2 separate regions of the Homo sapiens genome follow, and region 2 is linked to region 1. Evidence: promoter capture Hi-C in human tissues and cell types (Jung and others, 2019). All regions are on one chromosome and are shown on one strand. Each heading gives the region's core, a stretch centred on a gene start or on the middle of the fragment in contact. The rest is flanking DNA. Distances are from core to core; before and after follow the strand shown.

Evidence for each region. The method cuts DNA at HindIII sites, captures the fragments that hold promoters and counts their contacts. A contact is called where the count stands out against the background at its distance.
Region 2: a contact is called between a fragment that was not itself captured here and the fragment with the promoter of MAL in region 1, in 2 of the 25 tissues and cell types used here (aorta and stomach).

What each region holds. Positions count from the first base shown.
Region 1 is chr2:95,023,424-95,027,144 of GRCh38, forward strand. MAL (mal, T cell differentiation protein (MAL blood group)) reads left to right here and starts at 2,285. Exons shown (of 4, transcript NM_002371.4): 1 at 2,285-2,462. The coding sequence starts at 2,370. It overlaps MAL-AS1 (MAL antisense RNA 1), which reads right to left and starts at 3,606. Exons shown (of 8, transcript XR_007087136.1): 1 at 3,136-3,606; 2 at 2,917-3,010; 3 at 772-834. RefSeq lists a silencer at 2,185-2,314 and an enhancer at 2,669-3,392. The HindIII fragment of the contact is 10,437 bases long and covers 1-3,721 here.
Region 2 is chr2:94,938,268-94,942,075 of GRCh38, forward strand. The region is part of intron 1 of LOC442028 (a long non-coding RNA gene); the gene reads right to left. Among named protein-coding and RNA genes, the nearest start is that of TEKT4, 69 kb to the left of the region's middle. The HindIII fragment of the contact is 5,057 bases long and covers 1-3,808 here.

The DNA.
Region 1 (3,721 bases), core at 1,035-3,534:
TTTTACAAATGCCTCCTCTCACCAACGCCTCTCTCTCTCTCTCTCACACACCAGTGCCTCTCTCTCACCAGTGCCTCTCTCTGTCTCACCAACGCCTCTCTCTCACCAATGCCTCTCTATTTACCAATGTCTCTCTATTACCAGTGCCTCACTCCTCACCAGTGCTTCTTACATCCAAACAGGGCACTTCCATGTCCTCCTCTGGTGGTCAAGCACAGACAAAGCTGGAGTCATCCACCATTGGCTAAGGTTTAATGAGCACTCACCAGAGGCTGGGCTCTGCTTGGGTGCTGAGCATATGCTAGGGTGGGGAAGGAGAGGGGCAGATGGGGGTGGCTGGAGGATGCCCTGCCGAGGGTAGAGTCTGGTCAGGAAGATGAACGTCGAGCGGAGAACTCCAGGTGGGAGGAGGGGGTCACAGAGATAGGGACAAACCCCCTTGACCCTGGCCGGGCTGCCTTCCTCATCCTCTGAAGCCTCTTTCAGAGATTGCTGCCCCTCTGCCTTATCAAAGGAGGGCTGGGACTGCTGAGCTCCACTGAGTTGCCCCTGGGAGCGAGCTTTCCCCAAAGGCTCAGGCCCAAGTAGGAATGAGTTAGCAACAAAGGCTTGAAATAAGTAGGAAATCACCAAACCAAACCACAAACAAAAGCCCTCCAGGCCAGGTAAGGACATTATTAGGAGTTGATAGGATCTTCTTGTTCTTAATTAGTATGTGCTGATAGGAAATCTCCAAGCAGCTTTCGCTGGACTGCCTGAGGGTCATCTCACCTCTCTTCAGGCTGCGGCTTCCTGTGGCCACCTTGCTTTAAGGCTTGTTCCCAGGACGGTCTCCTGGGGAGGAAGAAGATGTCCTCTCAGAGGCCAGCAGGTCCAACTAACGAGCTATGAGATGCCCAAGGTGGATGAGGACCTGGGCTCCTAAAGTCCCACAGCCCATTGTGTCCAGAGAGATGCTGCCCTGGGGACCCGACACAATGGCACCTTGGTTGCAGCCGTCCGGGCTGGCAGCTCACAGAGGCACAGTGGGGTTTTCTCATTTCAAATGCCTGGCCCCTTTCCAGAGGCACTTAGAATGGCCAGCTGATGGGCGTGCTACTTTTGCTTTGGAAAATGCGTCCACGAATATACTTCTCTCCCTAGGGACTGGGAAGGAGGAAGAATTGTGCAGCAGGGAGAGGTGAAGGCCCCACTGGAGAGAAGGGGAGCCCCTTGTCCTGCCTGCAGCAGCTGCCAATGGAAAGAAAGAAGAGTTGGGAGTCTAAGCTGGAGGTTGCGGGGCCAATTCCCTTTTGGCAGGCGAGAATCCGGACTCGGGCGGATTTCAGGCTTCAGTGTTTGTAGGAGGAAACACAGCAATCACACTATTAATAGTAAATTAAAATAAATGGGCAACTGCTGCATGGTAATACTTTTTTTTTTAAGGCAAAAAATAAAAAATAGTGAAACAGAGAAACAAAACATGAAACACCGGCAGTCAACAGGCAGGCAAAGAACCTGGGGGTGGGGGTAGCAGCGGTCCCACCCTCAAAAGGCCCGGGCTGCCCAGACCAAGAGAAAGCGATGAATCTCTTCTGGTAACGTCCCTTCCTGTCGCATGGATTCAAGGCCGACCTGCCCCAGCACCACCACCAGCAGCCTTCTGCTGGGGCCGGCACAGCTGGGAGCAACCTCCTACTCTCAGGCAGACGCGCAGCACCAAGCAGAGAGGCCCGGTGCAGGATCCCAGCGCCGAACCAGCGCCGGCTCAGTGGACGCGGAAGGGGCCGGCGGCCGCGGCCGGTCCCATCCCCCACTGCAGACCCCCAGCCTGTGGCGGTGGTCCAGTTCCGCCAGGAAACCGCCGCCTGGAGCTGTGGGTCGCGCACATTAACGCATCCAGCGGAAAAATGAAGGAGACCCAAATTCAAAGTTAAAGTAATGGTGACCCGAGAGGTGCCTTGATGAGAAGGTTTGGGGTCCCGGTTACTGATGGTTATCATTCTTACGAGATGCTGGTCACCTACGAAGGGAGAAAGGCACGAGGAGCGCCTGACCAAAGTGGTTTTGCCCTGCTTCCCGCAAGAGGTGGCACCCACGGCTGGAACGCAGGAGTCAGACCCACAGTCCCCAGCTCTGGACGCCCGCAGCGGGGCCTCGAAGAGGTTCAGGGCGGTGCCCGCGGCGCTCGGGCCGGGTCTCCCGGGGCGTGGGGCGGGGGGCGGGGTTGGGCGGCGGCCGGGGCTCCTCCCTCTTCTGCCCCGGGCTCCCCTGCTCTTAACCCGCGCGCGGGGGCGCCCAGGCCACTGGGCTCCGCGGAGCCAGCGAGAGGTCTGCGCGGAGTCTGAGCGGCGCTCGTCCCGTCCCAAGGCCGACGCCAGCACGCCGTCATGGCCCCCGCAGCGGCGACGGGGGGCAGCACCCTGCCCAGTGGCTTCTCGGTCTTCACCACCTTGCCCGACTTGCTCTTCATCTTTGAGTTTGTGAGTGGCTCCTGGCCGGGGAAGGGACGGGGTGGGCTGAGCCGTGCGCTCTCTCGGGCGCCCAGCACAGCTGTCGGACGGGATCCGCTAGCTGCGCAGGTTCTGGGAGCATCGGGGCAGCAGGCGCAGGGCGGGGACTAAGCCAGGGAAGTCCCCTCCCACCTCCGGTCCTTTGTGCCCTTCTAGACCAACAGAATGAGGGGAACAGTCTACAGGACTATGGAGGAAAAACTGGGTTCCCAACTGGGGTCAGATGTAGGCAGCGGGGCAGGGGGGGACGGCTCTTGGTTCGCTGGTCCCAAAGCTGCGCGCGGGGCCCACTTGACGCGCGCAGCGCCACCGAAGCTCCCGCCGCGCTTTGCGCGGTTGGGTAGAAGTGCGCAGCTTTTACAAGGGAGAAGGTTTCGTTAAAAAAGAAAAAAAAATCAGCAAGAGAAACATTAGTATTACCAACCGAGATTTGGAGATGAGAGGGAGCTGAATCCGGTTTATTTTCTTCTGGCCTTTTAAAGTTTCTGGCGAGGGAACGTATTTGCGACCAATTCGATCTGGAAATGAGGCCATCGTTTGCTTGGCCGCAGTCCTTCTGCCCCGTGTGCGGGGTGGGGGTGGAGGAGATGGGGGGTGGGGGGTGGGGGGTGGCGGCGAGAGCGATCCGCGCGCCTCGACTGACCTTGGGCAGGCCCGGGGCCTCTGCACCTGCGGTCGGTCCCGCCTTGCACGCACGGTCTCTGCCTGAGGCTGCAGGAAAGCGCTTCCTACTGAGAACTCCTGATAAGCGCTCACGGTGTCGCGAAGCCGAAGTGACCTCCCTCAGCCTCAACTCCCCGGGGGCCGCTGGCCTTCACCTGGGAGGGGTGTGCCCTGTATGTCCTGTGGGTGCGGTCCGTCACCGCCTGAGGGACACCTTTTCCGGCACCCCACCCTCAGAAGTGTCAGCGTGGAGAGTTGGGCGGGAAAGAAAATGTCGGAGCCTGGCTGTTTAAAAATTGGACCCCAGGTTGTTATTGCCTGATTGGAGGGGGAGGGTGTGAATACCAAAGGGAGCAGGTCAGTTCATCCAAAGAGGGCTTGCGGGCAGAGGCTAAGAGGGCTGCGGCGGCCTGGGAGCAGGGCTACCATTGAACTTAGGGTGAAAGTCCAGTCGAACCCAAACCTGGGTGGAACCGGTGACTTGAAATCCTAGGGATAGGCGGAATCAAAGCAGTTACATTTAGAAGAAACCCTGGACGCCAATGAACGCAGCCCCACCGTTTACA
Region 2 (3,808 bases), core at 326-2,825, 86 kb before region 1:
TTTAATATTTCATTCAGCACAGGACACAAAACTGAAATTCAATAAGCTATGAGATAAATAATTCCATATCAAAGAAGCATATAATTTTCCCTTAAATATCAAAATCTTGATAATTGATTTCATTCTAAAAATTTAACAATGTCCAATAGCAATACATTCAAAGGAGAAGATGCCAAGTACATTGTAATGCAAGAGTAAAAGAAGGATATGAGAAAAATGACCTTAAAATTATTCAAAGACATGTTTTCAGACAATCCTACAACCCAGAACTGAAAAAAAGCCATTTCACTTGACCAGGTTGACATTACCTACTTAGCACAAAGAAACTTTTGAGGTGTTCTGGTTTACATCCACTTGTAGGAAAGGCTACCAATTGACAATAGCTTACATTTATTAAGCATGTATCTTCTTAATATCTATAACTACCCTGTAAGGTAATGGCCATTAGTATATTATTTCATAGATGATAAAACTGAAGCTTAGAGGTGTCAAGAAACTTGACCATGGTCATTCAGCTTCTGAGATAAGAGTGGCAATACCAATCTATTATCAGCTGGTCATTACCAGTATTTGTTGGACATTTACTATTACTGTCTCAGCTGCTATCGGGTTTTGGGGAAGCAAGAATGTTAAAGTTCAATAGAGGAAGAAGGAGATACAAAACTCAGTACAAAAGTTTTTATAAGAGCTCCACAAAGGGCTTAGGGGGGCACAAAAGAGAGGAATGGGTAGAAAAGCAACGTGTCAGTTGACTTATGCAAATAAACTACTGAACGTTTCTTTAAGTAAAGAGCATCCAAAATTTATTTCCTGGTCAATATACTTTCTCTGGTTTTTATTCATGAAAATCTTTTGATGTATACTACAGATTTCAGAGAATATGGGTCCAATTTCAGAGTATGTAAACCCCGTCCCCTTACATTTATAGCACACATTTATGCTTATACACAACATAAGCATAAAATCTAGGTTATCTTGTCGCATCATTACTACTGTTTCAATGTGGTTGGGAGAGGAAGGTTTACGTTAAACACAAAATGTTCCTCACATGTCACTTGACTTGAACTGTTCCCATCATCAAGAAAAATTACGGTAAGAATGAAAGGAGTTTACTTTTCTCTGTGACTGTTCTAAAGAAGCAGAGGAGCGTTTTAAGTTTATCTGGTTTCCTTGATGAACGTCCCTCAAACAACCTAAAAGAGTTGAAAAATAAAAGAGAGTGGAAGATGACTTAAAATGCCTTAATGATTCACAAAACTACATCCATATTGCTACCACATAATAAAAAGAAATAATTGTTCCAGAAGACAATTCTGTAATGATAAGAACTAGAAAATTCGTTTAGATTCAAACGGCATCTGGAGAGAACTGAAACCAACTAGAACCAGACTTCTCCAAAGCTGTTCAAACCAGACAGCATTTGCTACCAACCACATTTCTCCAACCTATATCTTCCACCACAAAGAAGGCACCATGCACCATCTAGCCCTCCCAGTCAACTGTGGTCAGTCAGTGCAGTCAATGGCTAATAACATTTATAATTCATAATGTTACTAGTTTGGTAAGTAACAAAAACAGTATCTGAAAAAAATCATCTGAGTGTTTGTGAGGAAATTAGAGTGGAGGGGAATGGGGGAAGGGACACAGGCAGGTATAACAAGATATCAGGGCTCAACAATCCTTGTTAATTATACTAGATTCTTTTATGGATTGAATGTTTGTGCCCTCTCAAAATTTACATATTGAATCTTTAAACCCTAATGTAGCTAAATTTGGAGACAGGGCCTGTGAGAAGGTAGTAACAGTTAAATAAGGTCATAGGGGTGGGACTCTAATCTGATAGAACTGGTGTCATTTTAAGAAGAGAAGGTGAGACTACGGTACTCTCACTCTGCCACATGAGGACAAGATGTTAGCAAACCTATAAGCCAGGAAGAAAGCCCTCATCAGGAACCGAACCAGCAGCACCCTGATCTGCAGCTTCTAGCCTCCAGAACCGTGAGAAAATAAGTTTCTGTTGTTTAAGCCACCCAGTTCTATGGTATTTTATTATGGCAGCCCAAGCTGACTAATAGAGATCCTTGGCATGGTAACCAAAACAGTGCCTACCCTGTGTCATCTAGTTTTCAGCAACCTGGACTTGGATTACTTAATTCAGTTTCCTTTGAAATGATGTGGCATTGTTATTGGTAACACGTAATTCAGTTTATTCTGAGAAAAGCAGGGCTTTAAAAGCATTATCACCCGAGTAAGTAGTTCACTAAAAGATTTCTAACACAAAAGCATGCTTTTGAGTATAAGATCTAGCTTTCCAAAGGCATTTAAAAATTATAGAGACTCAGTGGCCATGAATGATGAGGTACTCTTCATCTGCCTCTAGTCATGTGCTCTAACTTTAAAACCAGAGACCCTTCAAGTAAAGTCCACGTTAGTAAGTGCTGAAATGGGTAATTATTTTTCATGATTACAAGAGTAAGCTTATGTAACTACGCTGAGAGAAAAGTTAATTCCATGAGAAAATCCTATTGAGTAACTGAAATAAATTAGGAAAAGGAAATGCAGTTTTCAAATGGTTCCGTTTTCAACGATCTGAAATCTCTATTCAGGGTCAATTTCTGGAAAAACAGTTTATATGAGTATTTATTTCATAAAAAGAATACTTATGTAGGCTAGTATTTTAACAAAATCTAAAATCAGATCTCTTTTTAAAAAGTTTAAGACATCCTGTGTGATAATTTTTATTTATTTAAAAGAACCTATCCTTCTAAAATATTTAATACACATACTCTTATAATCCAGTCGCCAGCTTAAACAGGGTACAGATTAAATAAGATAGTATTTCTAAATTGATTCCGAATGGATTAAAACTCAATAAAATGGACATTTTATTGAGTGAATGGAGAGAGCTAATACATCTGGCAAGTCAGTTAAGAGAGCTTCTGCCATTTTTGTTGACATGTAATAGTGTAATAAAGTCACATGTAATACCATAAAGCTCTGTAAAGAAATTTTAACCTAGCCTATTTGTTTAAAGGAGATGTTAACAATTCATGCTCCCTTGAACCACTTCATTTTTGCTTTTAGGACAGGAGTGTTCATTAACACACACAATCAATTACTAAAATAAATATTATCAAGCAGTAACCAAAAAATTCAACGTAAGGCTATCATACCCAAACTCAAAGATCCAGAAGCCAATTTAACTAATCCATGCCTCCTTGGCAAAAGTGTATGGATATTACCTTTTCCTTGTGATAGTAAAACCTACCCATTTTCTTACCTCACCCAGTATCAGGTTTCATGTTTCCACAAATAAAGCAGACAATGAACATACTGTGTAGAAATCTTGAGCTCTTAATTAAAAAGTACTCACCGAGTTGTATCTAAATAATTGGCTACAATGATCTAAAACACACAGTTATATCTGGATCATTTGCTACAATTATCTAAAACCACTTTATTTACATCTTAGTATTAATCACAGGACAAAAACGCTAATATTTTCAGAACTACAGCCAGTGTTGCTATCTGGCGCAGGCAACATGTCTTCAAAACCCCATGATACTATGTGTTTGCCCCCAAGTAAACAGGAGGGAGATCCAGGCGCCCCTTCCAAAAGCAATAGCTTAGAGGAGAGAAGGAAAATCAAAGACACTGAGACGATTCATGTTAGCAAAAAGTGAACCTGCCACCCCAAACAGCAGAAAACAAAATCTGAAAACTAAGATGTATAATATGTTATGTATTATTCACAAAATTTATTCACAATATCTTTAAATAATTACAAAACCGTGTTTCTGAAAATGTT